Linked DNA regions of Homo sapiens: region 1 is linked to region 2. The links are contacts of gene promoters, found by promoter capture Hi-C in human tissues and cell types (Jung and others, 2019). All regions are on one chromosome and are shown on one strand. The core of a region is centred on a gene start or on the middle of the fragment in contact, and the rest is flanking DNA. Distances in the headings are between cores, read along the strand shown.

Region 1 (6,132 bases), core at 2,311-4,810, 740 kb before region 2:
GTGTGTGTGTGTGTGTGTGTGTGTGTGTGTGTGTGTGTGTGTGTGGTTTTGTTTTTTTTTTTTGGACAGGGAGTCTTGCTCTGTCATCCAGGCTGGGGTGCAGTGGCGTGATTTCGGCTCACTGTAACCTCCGCCTTCTGGGTTCAAGCGATTCTCCTGCCTCAGCCTCCTGAGTAGCTGGGATTACAGGTGTGCACCACGTCTGGCTAATTTTTTGTATTTTTAGTAGAGATGGGGTTTCACTATGTTGGTCAGGCTGGTCTTGAACACCTGACCTCGTGATCCACCCGCCTCAGCCTCCCAAAGTGCTGGGATTACAGGATGAGTCACTGCACTCAGCCGTGGTTTGTTTTTTTTTTTGTTGTTGTTGTTGTTTTGTTTGTTTGTTTTTTAGTAGATGGGGTTTTGCCATGTTGCCCAGGTTGGTCTTGAACTCCTGAGCTCAAGGGATCTGCCCACCTTGGCCTCCCAAACTGCTAGGATTACAGCTGTGAGCCACCGCACCCAGCCAAAATTTAGGCTTTTTTTAAAAAGTGAGATAACATGCCTGCCTGCACCGCAGAGCTATGAAGTCCAGGTCAGGGGTGTGGGGAGGACGGGGTTCCCCAGGTGAGTCTATGTAAGCGGGATGAAGCCACAACTCCCTTTTCCTGGACTAGTGAAATGAAGCTGGGACACCATCATCAGAAGAGATTCTCAGGGGGAAGCCAGGAGTCCCAGCTCCACCTACGCTATGCTCCCTGGAGCAAGGCGCCTTCCCCTCCTCTGGCCTCGGTCATCTTACCTGTAATATGAGGCTAAAGGGTCGGGCATGGTGGCTCACACCTGTAATCCCAGCACGCTGGGAGGCTGAGGTGGGTGGATCATGAGGTCAGGAGTTCAAGAGCAGCCTGGCCAACATACTGAAACACTGTCTCTACTAAAAATACAAAAATTAGGTGCGGGTGTGGTGGCGGGCGCCTGTAGTCCCAGCTACTTGGGAGACTGAGGCAGGGGAATTGCTTCAACCTGGGAGGCGGAGGTTGCAGTAAGCCAAGACTGCGCCACTACACTCCAGCCTGGGTGACAGAGGAAGACTCCATCTCAAAGAAAAAAGAAAAAGCCAGGCATGGTAGCTCACGCCTGTAATCCCAGCACTTTGGGAGGCTGAGGCGGGCAGATCACCTAAGGTCGGGAGTTTGAGACCAGCCTGACCAACATGGTGAAACCCCATCTCTACTAAAAATACAAAAATTAGCCGTGTATTTTGGCTGACACCTGTAGTCCCAGCTACACAGGAGGCTGAGGCAGGAGAATTGCTTGAACCTGGGAGGTGGAGGTTGCAGTGAGTCGAGATCGCACCACTGCACTCCAGCCCGGGTGACAGAGGGAGACTCCGTTTCAAAAAAAAAAAAACATGGGGCTAAAGGTCATGCCTGTCTTATGGGCTGCTTTCCTGGGGAATTCTGGTGTGAGCCTAAGAACCTGTGGCCTTGAGTCTGAGCATCTTTTCCCAGAGGAATGAGGCCCCACCTCCTGGTGGCCTTGCTTCGATGTCCCCTAAGCAGAACCCAGCAAAATGATGATGTTTTGCAAGCACTAGATCTGGAGTCCAGATTGGGTTCTTTCCATTTTTTTTTTTTTGTTTTTTTTTTTGAGACGGAGTCTCGCCCTGTCGCCCACGCTGGAGTGCAGTGGCGCGATCTCAGCTCACTGCAAGCTCTGCCTCCCCGGTTCACGCCATTCTCCTGCCTCAGCCTCCCGAGTAGCTGGGACCACAGGCGCCCGCCACCACGCCTGGCTAATTGTTTGTATTTTTAGTAGAGATGGGATTTCACCATGTTAGCCAGGATCGTCTCGATCTCCTGACCTCATGATCCGCCCGCCTCGGCCTCCGAAAATGCTGGGATTACAGGCGTGAGCCACCATGCCCGGCCTTTTTTTTTTTTTGAGACAGAGTCTTGCTCTGTCGCCCAGGCTGGAATGCAGTGGCGTGATCTCAGTTCAGTGTAACCTCCATCTCCCAGGTTCAAGCGATTCTCCTGCCTCAGCCTCCAGAGTATCTGGGAATACAGGTGCCCGCCACCACGTCCGGCTAATTTTTATATTTTTAGTAGAGGTGGGGTTTCACCATGTTGGCCAGGCTGTTCTCCAACTCCTGACCTCAAATGATCCGCCCACCTCAGCCTCCCAAAGTGCTGGGATTATAGGCGTGAGTCATCCTGCCCAGCCCAGAATGGGTTCTAATCCCAGCTTGGCAACTCACTAGGAATAGGAGTTTGGGAAGGCAGCATCCCCTAGGAGTCTTGCTTGCCACATCTGTGAAATGTGTATAAGTGTTTCACAAGAGCCTGGAGTCCCTGTGGACTGGAGGAGACGCTGCTCCGGGGAAGCTCAGATCCGTGCCCGGCACATAGTAAGTGCTCCATAAACTATCTCACCGCACTCTGGCTTCCACGGACAAAGGGGTAAAGCCAGCCAGGAACCAGCTTCCTGCTAGGTACAAAAGTCCCCCAACTGGGAAGTCAGGTGAGAAGACATACCTACCTCCCAGTGATCATTGCCTAAATCTGTGCTTCTCCTCACCTCCTTTGGAGCCTGAGCTCACCTGGGCAGGGGGCCAGGTAGGCAGGCATCAAACTCCTGGCCTCGACCGATTCTCAAGTCCCACTTAGGACTCAGGCAGCTTCCTCCCGTCCCCTCTGTCCACCATGACTTCCTGGAACTGGTTTAAGCAAGGGTGGCCATGGCAGATGTCAACACCCTATGAAACCCCTGGGGGTCAGTGACCTGCCTTGCCGCTGGCTCCAGAAGGGGAGCTCCAGGCCAGACCCAGCCATCCAGCAACTTCAGAGCATGCTAAGACTGGACTTCCAAAATTCCAAGGGCCCCAGGTCCCACTGCCAGGCCTAGCCGGGACAAGAACCCCAAAGCAGTTAACGGATAGGCCTTCCTACTTTTAAGCCACCTCGTCGCCACGCCCACCCGAGGGAAGTGGGCAGGCTTTGCCCAAGACCTCCCCAGAATCAGTTGGGGGCGCCAGGAGCTGGGGCAACCCCCACCCCCACCCGTGGCAAAACCATCTGTAGGGGAGGGGGCTTTGCGGTGGCGGGGGGTGTCTCTGAAAACCCCAGAAGGGAGGGCGGAGATTCTGCCCGCAGGAGGAAACTTGCCTGCAAATGGCGTTTCCAAAAGCAAACTGTTCAAAATTTAGAGAAAACCTGGTGGGCGGGGGGCGGTATTTAGCCCACCCCCTTCAATATCACCCCTTCTACGGGGCTCTTTCGCCCCTCAAAAGTCCCAGGAAGTGAGAAGAGGGTTTCAAAGTCTGAGCTTCGTTGCAGAAGTTGGATTTTTCTGGGGGGAGGGGTGACCAGCCTGGGCTGAAGACCCCTCCCCAGGCCGCAGAGTCCAGCAAATCCCACCCCGAGAAAGGCCCTCCCCGACCCCTCCGGCCCCTGGGGTGCCCCAGGACTCCATGGACACCGCCCCCCAGCTCAACTGAGACGCCCCCGCCACTCACCGCGGTCAACCGGACGTCCCAGGAACAGCTGCCGCGACTTCAAAACCAGCTTGGAAACCGTCCGGGCCGAGGCGGGGGTGGCTTTTACTGCGTGGTAGGTTGGGGGCGCACTGGAGTGACGGGCGAGGGGACCAATCAGGTTGAGGGATTGCCCGCGCCAGGCCCGCCCCTCTCCTCCCTGCCCCGCCTCCACTAGGCCCCGCCCCTCGCCAAGTCATGAAGTCCGGGAAGGACTCCACGCCCTGCCCCTGAAGGGGAGGGAGCACTCTTGGACCACGCCTGTCCCAGCCACGGGACCCCCGCTCCGCAGCTGGGGACCCTGTGAAGTTGGCCCTGGGAGGTGAGTGCGATCGGGGGCGCCGCACAGGTGCTGGGATTCCCCAGGTCGCCCATTTCCCCTATGGCCAAACTGAGGCTGCGAGAACCCTGGGAGAGTTGCAGGGTGACCCTCGCCAGCGCGTCAGGGGCCACGCCCTCCACCATGGGCTCCGACTCAGCTATATGTACACACACACACACACACACACACACACACTTTTTTTTTTTTTTTGAGACACAGTCTCGCTCTGTCGCTAAGGCTGGAGTGCAGTGACGCGACCTTGGCTCACTGCAGCCTCCACCTCCTGGATTCAAGCGATTCTCCTGCCTCAGCCTCCTGAGTAGCTGGGATTACAGACACGTGCCACCACGCCCGGCTAATTTTTTGTATTTTTAGCAGAGACGGGGTTTCACCATGTTGGTCTTGAACTCCTGACCTCAAGTGATCTGCCCGCTTGGGCCTCCCAAATTGCTGGGATCACAGGTATGAGCCACCGCACCCGGCCCAACCCAGCTATATGAGTGACTTGAACCACCACGGGAACTTGTCCAGCCTCCGGCCTGATCTGCCCAACATCAGACCACTTCATCCTCCCAGCACTGTATTGTCTTTTTAATCATCCCTATTTTGCAGAGAAGGAAACTGAGGCCTGGAGAGGGTCAGCCAGGGGCAATGGAGGGGTCAGGCTCCAGGCTCTGTGACTGCTGGATCAACCTTTTCCTGAAGCTGCCCCCACTTGGATTTTACCCCGCCCCTCTCCACCTCCCAAATTATTTATCCTCTTGGTCTATAAACCAAGGTCTCAATCTCAGATGGTCCAGGGAGGAGGTGAATATTTCTGCTGAGGAGGTGGCAGTGATGCCCTGCTTAGAGGGGCAGGGGAGAGCAGTGCCCTATGGGAGACCCACCTGGAGAGTCACAGATCCACAGGAAGTTCAAGCTGTAGACATGTCCTGCCTGTTAGGGAACAATTGGACCAAATGAAACCCAACTGGGGCTTTGTCCAGCCCAGGGGCCACCAGTTTGCCACCTCTGCCAAATTATTTGAATAGAATGAAGCTTCTGGTAGCTTTAGAAAGAACATGGGAAAAATTGGGTGTCTGTGACTGCATTTTTTTGGGGGGGTGAGTGGGGACAGGGTCTATGCTAGCACTGTCCAATAGAACTTTCTGCAATTCTAGAATTGTGTGCCATCCAACATTGTAGCCAAAAGCACCACGTGGCTAATGCACAGTGAGAAGCTGAATGTTTAAATTTTTTTTTTTTTTTTGAGGCAGAGTCTCGCTCTGTCTCCCAGGCTGGAGTGCAATGGCGCGATCTCGACTCACTACAACCTCCACCTCCCGGGTTCAAGCGGTTCTCCTGCCTCAGCCTCCCAAGTAGCTGGGATTACAGGCGCGCGCCACCACACCCAGCTAATTTTTGTATTTTTAGTAGAGACGAGGACTAACCATATTGGCCAGGCTGGTCTCGAACTCCTGGCCTCAAGTGATCCACCTGCCTCGGCCTCCTAAAGTGCTGGGATTACAGGTGTGAGCTACCGCGCTTGGCCTGAATGTTTAAATTTAAGTAACTTCAGGCAGCTAGTGAGATTCTCAAGTGAATCTGAGACCCCATTCCATGACATTTGTAACAGGCTTTTTCCTTCTCATTCACTCATTCAACCATATTTATTGAGTCCTTGCGCTGGGGACAGCGGTGAGCTAAACAGATAAGAATTCCAGCCCTGGTGACACACACTACCCAGTGGGAGAGACGAACAAGGAACAACATAAGTGAGAGAACTTTACAATGTGTCACGTGGTAGGACAGCAAAGGACGAGATGAATGTGGGGGATGCGGGGATTTTGTTCTTGTTTTTTGTCAAAGAGTCTCACTCTGTCACCCAGGCTGGAGTGCAGTGGCACGATCTCGGCTCACTGCAACCTCCGCCTCCCAGGTTCAAGAAATTCTTGTTCCTCGACCTCCCAAGTGGCTGGGATTACAGGCCTGTGCCACCATGCCTGGCCAATTTTTGTATTTTTTTTTTTTTTAGTAGAGACGGGGCTTCACCATGTTGGCCAGGCTGGTCTCGAACTCCTGACCTCATGTGATCCACCAGCCCTGGCCTCTCAAGGTGCTGGGTTATAGGCATGAGCCACCACACCCGGTGGGGCCGCAGTTTTTAGTAGGGAGGTCAGAGGAGGCCTTTCTGAGTGACATCCAAGAAGAGAAGAGAGAGAGGCCAGGAGGGAACCATGTCCAGTTAGGGGGAACAGCATTCCAGGCAGCAGGCACAGTCCGTGCAAAGGCCCTGAGGCAGGACCACACC
Region 2 (5,576 bases), core at 1,931-4,430:
TAGTTTTCCATTTTAGTTACTGAATTGGTTCTAATTAATCCTGACCTATCCAAATACAATTGCTTTTTTTTTTTTTGAGACAGTTTCGCTCTGTCACCCAGGCTGGAGTGCAGTGTCGCGATCTCGGCTCACCGCGACCTCCGCCTCCTGGGTTCAAGCAATTCTCCCGCCTCAGCCTCCGAAGTAGCTGGGATTACAGGCGCCCGCCACCACGCCTGGCTAATTTTTGTGTTTTTAGTAGAGATGGGGTTTCTCCATGTTGGCCAGGCTGGTCTCCAACTCCTGACCTCAAGTGATCTACCCAAGTCGGCCTCCCAAAGTGCTGGGATTACAGGCATGAGACACCGCACCCAGCCACTAAATACAACTGCTTTTAATACAAGATAAGTCATCACAAGGAAAACACACAAACATGCAAGGTTATAAAACCATTAAACTTCATTACTCACAACTAATAACCAGAAGTCCTACCCATCCACATTGTTTTCTCTATTTCCACTGTGCCCACAAACAGCTGTGGGGCTACTAAGAAATGCACCCATCCACTCCAGCTGGGCCTGAGAAGAGCTCTGACACAGACATGGACTGTCAGAAATGTCCCCATGGGGAAAGGACTTCCACTTCTGGCTGAGATGGGAGAACTAAGCATTGTCTTCCTGCCTGAAACAACTAACAAATGTGATGAAACGTAGGCAACGACAGTTTTCAGATCCTGGACATCAGGCTGCCCAAGACAACAATCCCTGAGAGCTCCCTGACTGCCCCTGCTCACTGCCTAGATTCCCAGGCAATGGGGGATGGGTAAGACAGCACTGAGATTCTGAGACCAAGACAGAGAGAAATCACGGAACTGAGTATCAGAGAGGACACAGCCACACAGAGCCACGCAGAGCAAGCTGAAGAGACCCACAGAGGGTTCCTCCCACCCAGTGCACACGTGTGCGAGGAAACCAGAGGCTGGGACAGCACCACCCATAAGGAGCAGAGGGAACAATCAGGAGCAGAGGGAACAACCACTGGAGGGGCACTCAGGGCCACAAATGGTTTGCTCTTCCCAATAGCCAGGGTGGAAAGGCTGGTAATTCACGGGCCATCAGACCCACTACTCAGAGGGCACTGCCCAGTGGTGAGACAAAATCAGCCCAAACTGAAGGCTACTTTGGCCCTGCCTTAGTGTGTGTCCAGTACCTCAGCTGTGTCCCAGAAAAAAGCTCAAGGGTATTTGTAGAGATACAAGTATAACTAGCACCCAAAAAATACAATTCACAACATCCAGTAAAAAATTACCAGGCACAGGCTGGGCACAGTGGCTCATGCCTGTAATCCCAGCACTTTGTGAGGCCAAGGCAGGTAGATCACTTGAGGCCAGGTGTTCAAAACCAGCCTGGGCAACACAGAGAAACCACATCTGTACCAAAAATTTTAAAAATTAGCTGGGTGTAGTGGTACATGCCTGTGGTCTCAGCTACTCAGGAGGCTGAGGTGAGAGGATCGCTTGAGCCCGGGAGCTCGAGGCTGCAGTGAGCACCACTGTACTCCAGCCTGGGTGACACAGTGAGATCCTGTCTCTAAGGGAAAACAAAACAAAACAAAAAAACCAGAAGAAACTTAAAAGCAGCCACAGAAAAAGAGAGAGAAAAGACACAAATTGGTAACTGAAGGAACAAAGATTAAATTAACCTAGAATTCTATACCCAGTGAAAATTTATTTCAAAATGAAGACAAAGTAAAGACTTTTTCTGACATGCAAAAGAAACAAGAACGTATCACCAGCAAACCTGCACTACAGGAAACATTCAATTCCTTCAGGAGGGAGGAAGATGATCTCCGATGGGAACTTGGATATACAACAAAAAGCAACGAAGAGCACCTGGTGAGGTGAACATGATTTTTTCCTGTCATTTCTGGGTCTCTTTAAAATATAACTGTTTGGCTGGGCGTGGTGGCTCACGCCTGTAATCTCAGCACTTTGGGAGGCCGAGGTGGGAGGATCACGAGGTCAGGAGATCAAGACCATCCTGACTAACACAGTGAAACCCCATCTCTACTTAAAATACAAAAAATTAGCCAGGCCTGGTGGCGGGCACCTGTAGTTCCAGCTACTTGGGAGGCTGAGGCAGGAGAATGGCATGAACCCAGGAGGCAGAGCTTGCAGTGAGCCGAGATCGCGCCACTGCACTCCAGCCTAGGCGACAGAGCGAGACTCCGTCTCAAAAACAAACAAAAACAAAAACAAAAACAAAAAAAAACACAACTGTTCAAAGCAAAAAAGCCAAACCACAACAAGTCAAAGCCAATAAAATATTGGGTGACTTCTTAAAGAGAAGTAAACCGTATGACAATAACATCACAAAGATCGACGGGAGGGGAAATGCAAGTATATTCCCACAGAGTTCTTGCACTACGCTGAAACCAACAGAGCACCCCTTGCAGACAGACTGTAAGGGAAGATGTGTACTGTAATCCTACAGTAAACCACAATGACACAGAGTTAGAGCAAATAAGCCATCAGTCATAAAAAGGACTCGACCCACAAGAAGGCAGATAAATGGGAAAAAGAGATCAATAAACAAACATGAACAGAAAATAGAGAACAAGACAGTAGATCTAACGCCAAGCCCACCACCACTGGCGCGCAGAGTAAACATTTCCCCGGGACACAGGAGTCCTGGTCTCTGCCCTATCTCTGACTCAGGGCATCAACCTAAGCAAGGCATTCCCCGTCTCTGGACCTCATGGCCCCAACTGTGAAATGACAAGGTGGAACCCACAAGCTTGAGGTTCCCATCTGACGTCCTTGGTTTTGACCACACAAATGGAGGAGTCAAGGCTCTGCCTGAATCTGTCCAGGGCCAAAGGGACAGAAGACTCTCCTGAGAGAAACACAGATGCCACTTCCCATTCTACCTTCCCATCAAATTAATCATCCTTACAAGTATATCTCTTCTGATGACAGACAAAACCCAAATGAGAGCAGGCACCATACTAAGCTTGTATGTCCCTATCCCTGAGCTATGCCATCCGCCCTGGAGGCTCTGCATACTTCAGTCAAGTAGCTGAGTGGTGTCCTGCCCCTCTGGCCTTCCTACGTCCTTCTGTTTTTGTCCAGAGCTGAGCCCCACAGGTAAGGCCAACTCTGTCACTCACGCCTCAGCTGAATGTCACTTCTTCAGCGAGCTCTGCTGAAGCTGCCTCCCAAATCTAAACACGGCCTCCCCAACACACTGACGGCGTGCTCTAATATTCCTTAATACGCTCATCACAACACATCATATGTGTTTATTTCTTAAATGGTCTTTTTCCCGCCAGACTAAAAAATCTGTGATGACAGTGACCACGTATGTTTACCTCTGCTTAATCATCAGTGTCCGAGTGAAGTCAACAAAGTAACTGAATAAACAGGTTATTCATGGCTATAAGAATTTCCTAAGCCCTTGCTGAACACACAGACTGTTCAGAGAAAAATTGAACAGCACGCTTTCTCCGGGTCCTGTCCGCTTCTTAAGCAATGAAACATTAACCAACACCTGATCGGGTGACACAGACCTAGACAAAGGAACGGCTTCTGTAGCCAGAAAACTGTGTCAGACAGGGCCCACTCTGCCTGGAATCAGGGCACCCTCCAGACACTAAATGGTCCGAACCTTGTCCCTTGGAAGCCACTCCCCAGAGGCACCCAGGAGACCAGGGCAGTGCCAATTGCTTACCAGAAGACTCTTGGCTAGGCGCGGTGGCTCACGCCTGTAATCCCAGCATTTTGGGAGGCCAAGCAGGCAGATCACATAGGTCAGGAGTTGGAGACCAGTCTGGCCAACATGGCGAAACCCCATCTCTACTGAAAATACAAAAATTAGCCAGGCATGGTGGTGGGTGCCTGTAATCCCAGCTACTCGAGAAGCTAAGGCACGAGAATCACTTGAACCTGGGAGGGAGGCGGAGGCTGCAGTGAGCCAAGATCACACCACTGCACTTCAGCCTGGGCAACAGAGCGAGACGCAGTCTCAAAAAAAAAAAAAAAAAAAAAAAGAACAACAAACAAACAAAAAAAGAAGACTCTTAATTAATTTCAAACAGTGGAATCATTTTAAATTGTCCTCACCTTCCTTTGGAAAGCTGCTGAATTGTACTATTTTTCTCCCACCCCCATGAGCAGCATCTTAGTGATTTATTTTTGAACCACGATCATGTTCTAGTTATGAGACTATATACTTAAAATGCTAAATGATATGAAAGTCAATTATTCACTTCATTCTTTTTTTTTTTTTTTTTTTTTATGACATAGTCTCGCTCTGTTACCCAGGCTGGAGTGCAGTGGCACAATCTTGGCTCACTGCAACCTCTGCCTCCTGGGTTCAAGTGATTCTCCCACCTCAGCTTCCCGAGTAGCTGCGACTACAGGCACAGAACACCACGGCTGGCTGATTTTTGTATTTTTAGCAGAGACAGGGTTTCGCCATGTTGGCCAGGCTGGTCTCCAACTCCTGACTTTAGGTGATACGCCCGCCTCGGCCTCCCAAATTATTCTTAAGGGAAAAATCTCATCATGTAAGCTTTAAGTTTTGCACAAGACAAAAGACCACCAGTCTCTTTGAGACCAGTTAGAAAGAACCCCAAGAACATTGAGAGAGAAGCTGTTTATACAGCTGTTCTGAGCACTGTTGTGATATGACCAACCACCTGCCCTGCTCCGCACCCTAGTTACTGTGAGTCAGGAAACAAGGTGCACTGCACAAGACTGGGCGAGCTTCGCTGCTGTCGTTCCATTTTTTAGTAAACACAACATCTTGCTATGTTGCCCAGGCTGGTCTTGAACTCCTGGGCTCAAGCAATCCTCCTGCCTCAGCCTCCCAAACTGCTGGGATTATAGACGTGAACCACCGTGCCCAGCAGAGCTTCCTTTTTAACTCTGAATCACAGTGGATGGTATGAGGCAAGGGAAGGCATACCTTCCCATACTTGCTGAAAAGGTTCTTGAGATCCGTAGCGCGTGTTGTGGAGGACAGCCCGCTGACCCACAGGTTCCGACCAGAACCGCTGCCGACCCGACCTGGCACGAGAGGGAGATTCTTAGGCATCACCCCAAGGCCTAACAGGAAGCACAACCATTCTTAAGACCGCAGCCCTCTTTAAAAACCCTAACGACGCCCAATCCCAACTGCTGACTTAAGAATTTAACGCACACACACATGCCAACACACAGAAGGCTGAAAATCTGGACAGCAAAAACTGAGTTTCCTTACTCAAGGAATAATCATGCCCATGTCAGTTATGAACTGAAATGTCTTTTGATGATCAGATCTCATCCAAGACGGCAGTCTCTAAAATCCTTGAAACAGTCTTCAATGAGCAGAATTATTCCTTTCTTGTAATGTGCTTTTCACCATCCCATAGATGACAACCACAAGAGAAACATAAAATGCAGGTGCTTGCGAACTTCTAAAACTAGTCTCTCAAGAAACCATTAGGTGGTTGATTCCGGTAACCCATAACAAAACAAATTACTGAATCCAAAGTGTGTATATCTCCAGGCCCCTCCTCCCAAAATAAGGGAACCATACCTGGCTCCCTACCACGTT

Evidence for each region. The method cuts DNA at HindIII sites, captures the fragments that hold promoters and counts their contacts. A contact is called where the count stands out against the background at its distance.
Region 1: a contact is called between the fragment with the promoter of PLIN3 here and a fragment that was not itself captured in region 2, in 2 of the 25 tissues and cell types used here (dorsolateral prefrontal cortex and heart right ventricle).

Annotation. Positions count from the first base shown.
Region 1 is chr19:4,864,107-4,870,238 of GRCh38, forward strand. PLIN3 (perilipin 3) reads right to left here and starts at 3,561. Exons shown (of 8, transcript NM_005817.5): 1 at 3,503-3,561. RefSeq lists enhancers at 2,529-2,878, 2,821-3,321, a silencer at 3,539-3,718 and a cis regulatory region at 5,975-6,132. The HindIII fragment of the contact is 15,856 bases long and covers 1-6,132 here.
Region 2 is chr19:5,605,049-5,610,624 of GRCh38, forward strand. It overlaps SAFB2 (scaffold attachment factor B2), which reads right to left. Exons shown (of 21, transcript NM_014649.3): 9 at 4,947-5,047. Among named protein-coding and RNA genes, the nearest start is that of SAFB2, 15 kb to the right of the region's middle. The HindIII fragment of the contact is 3,966 bases long and covers 1,198-5,163 here.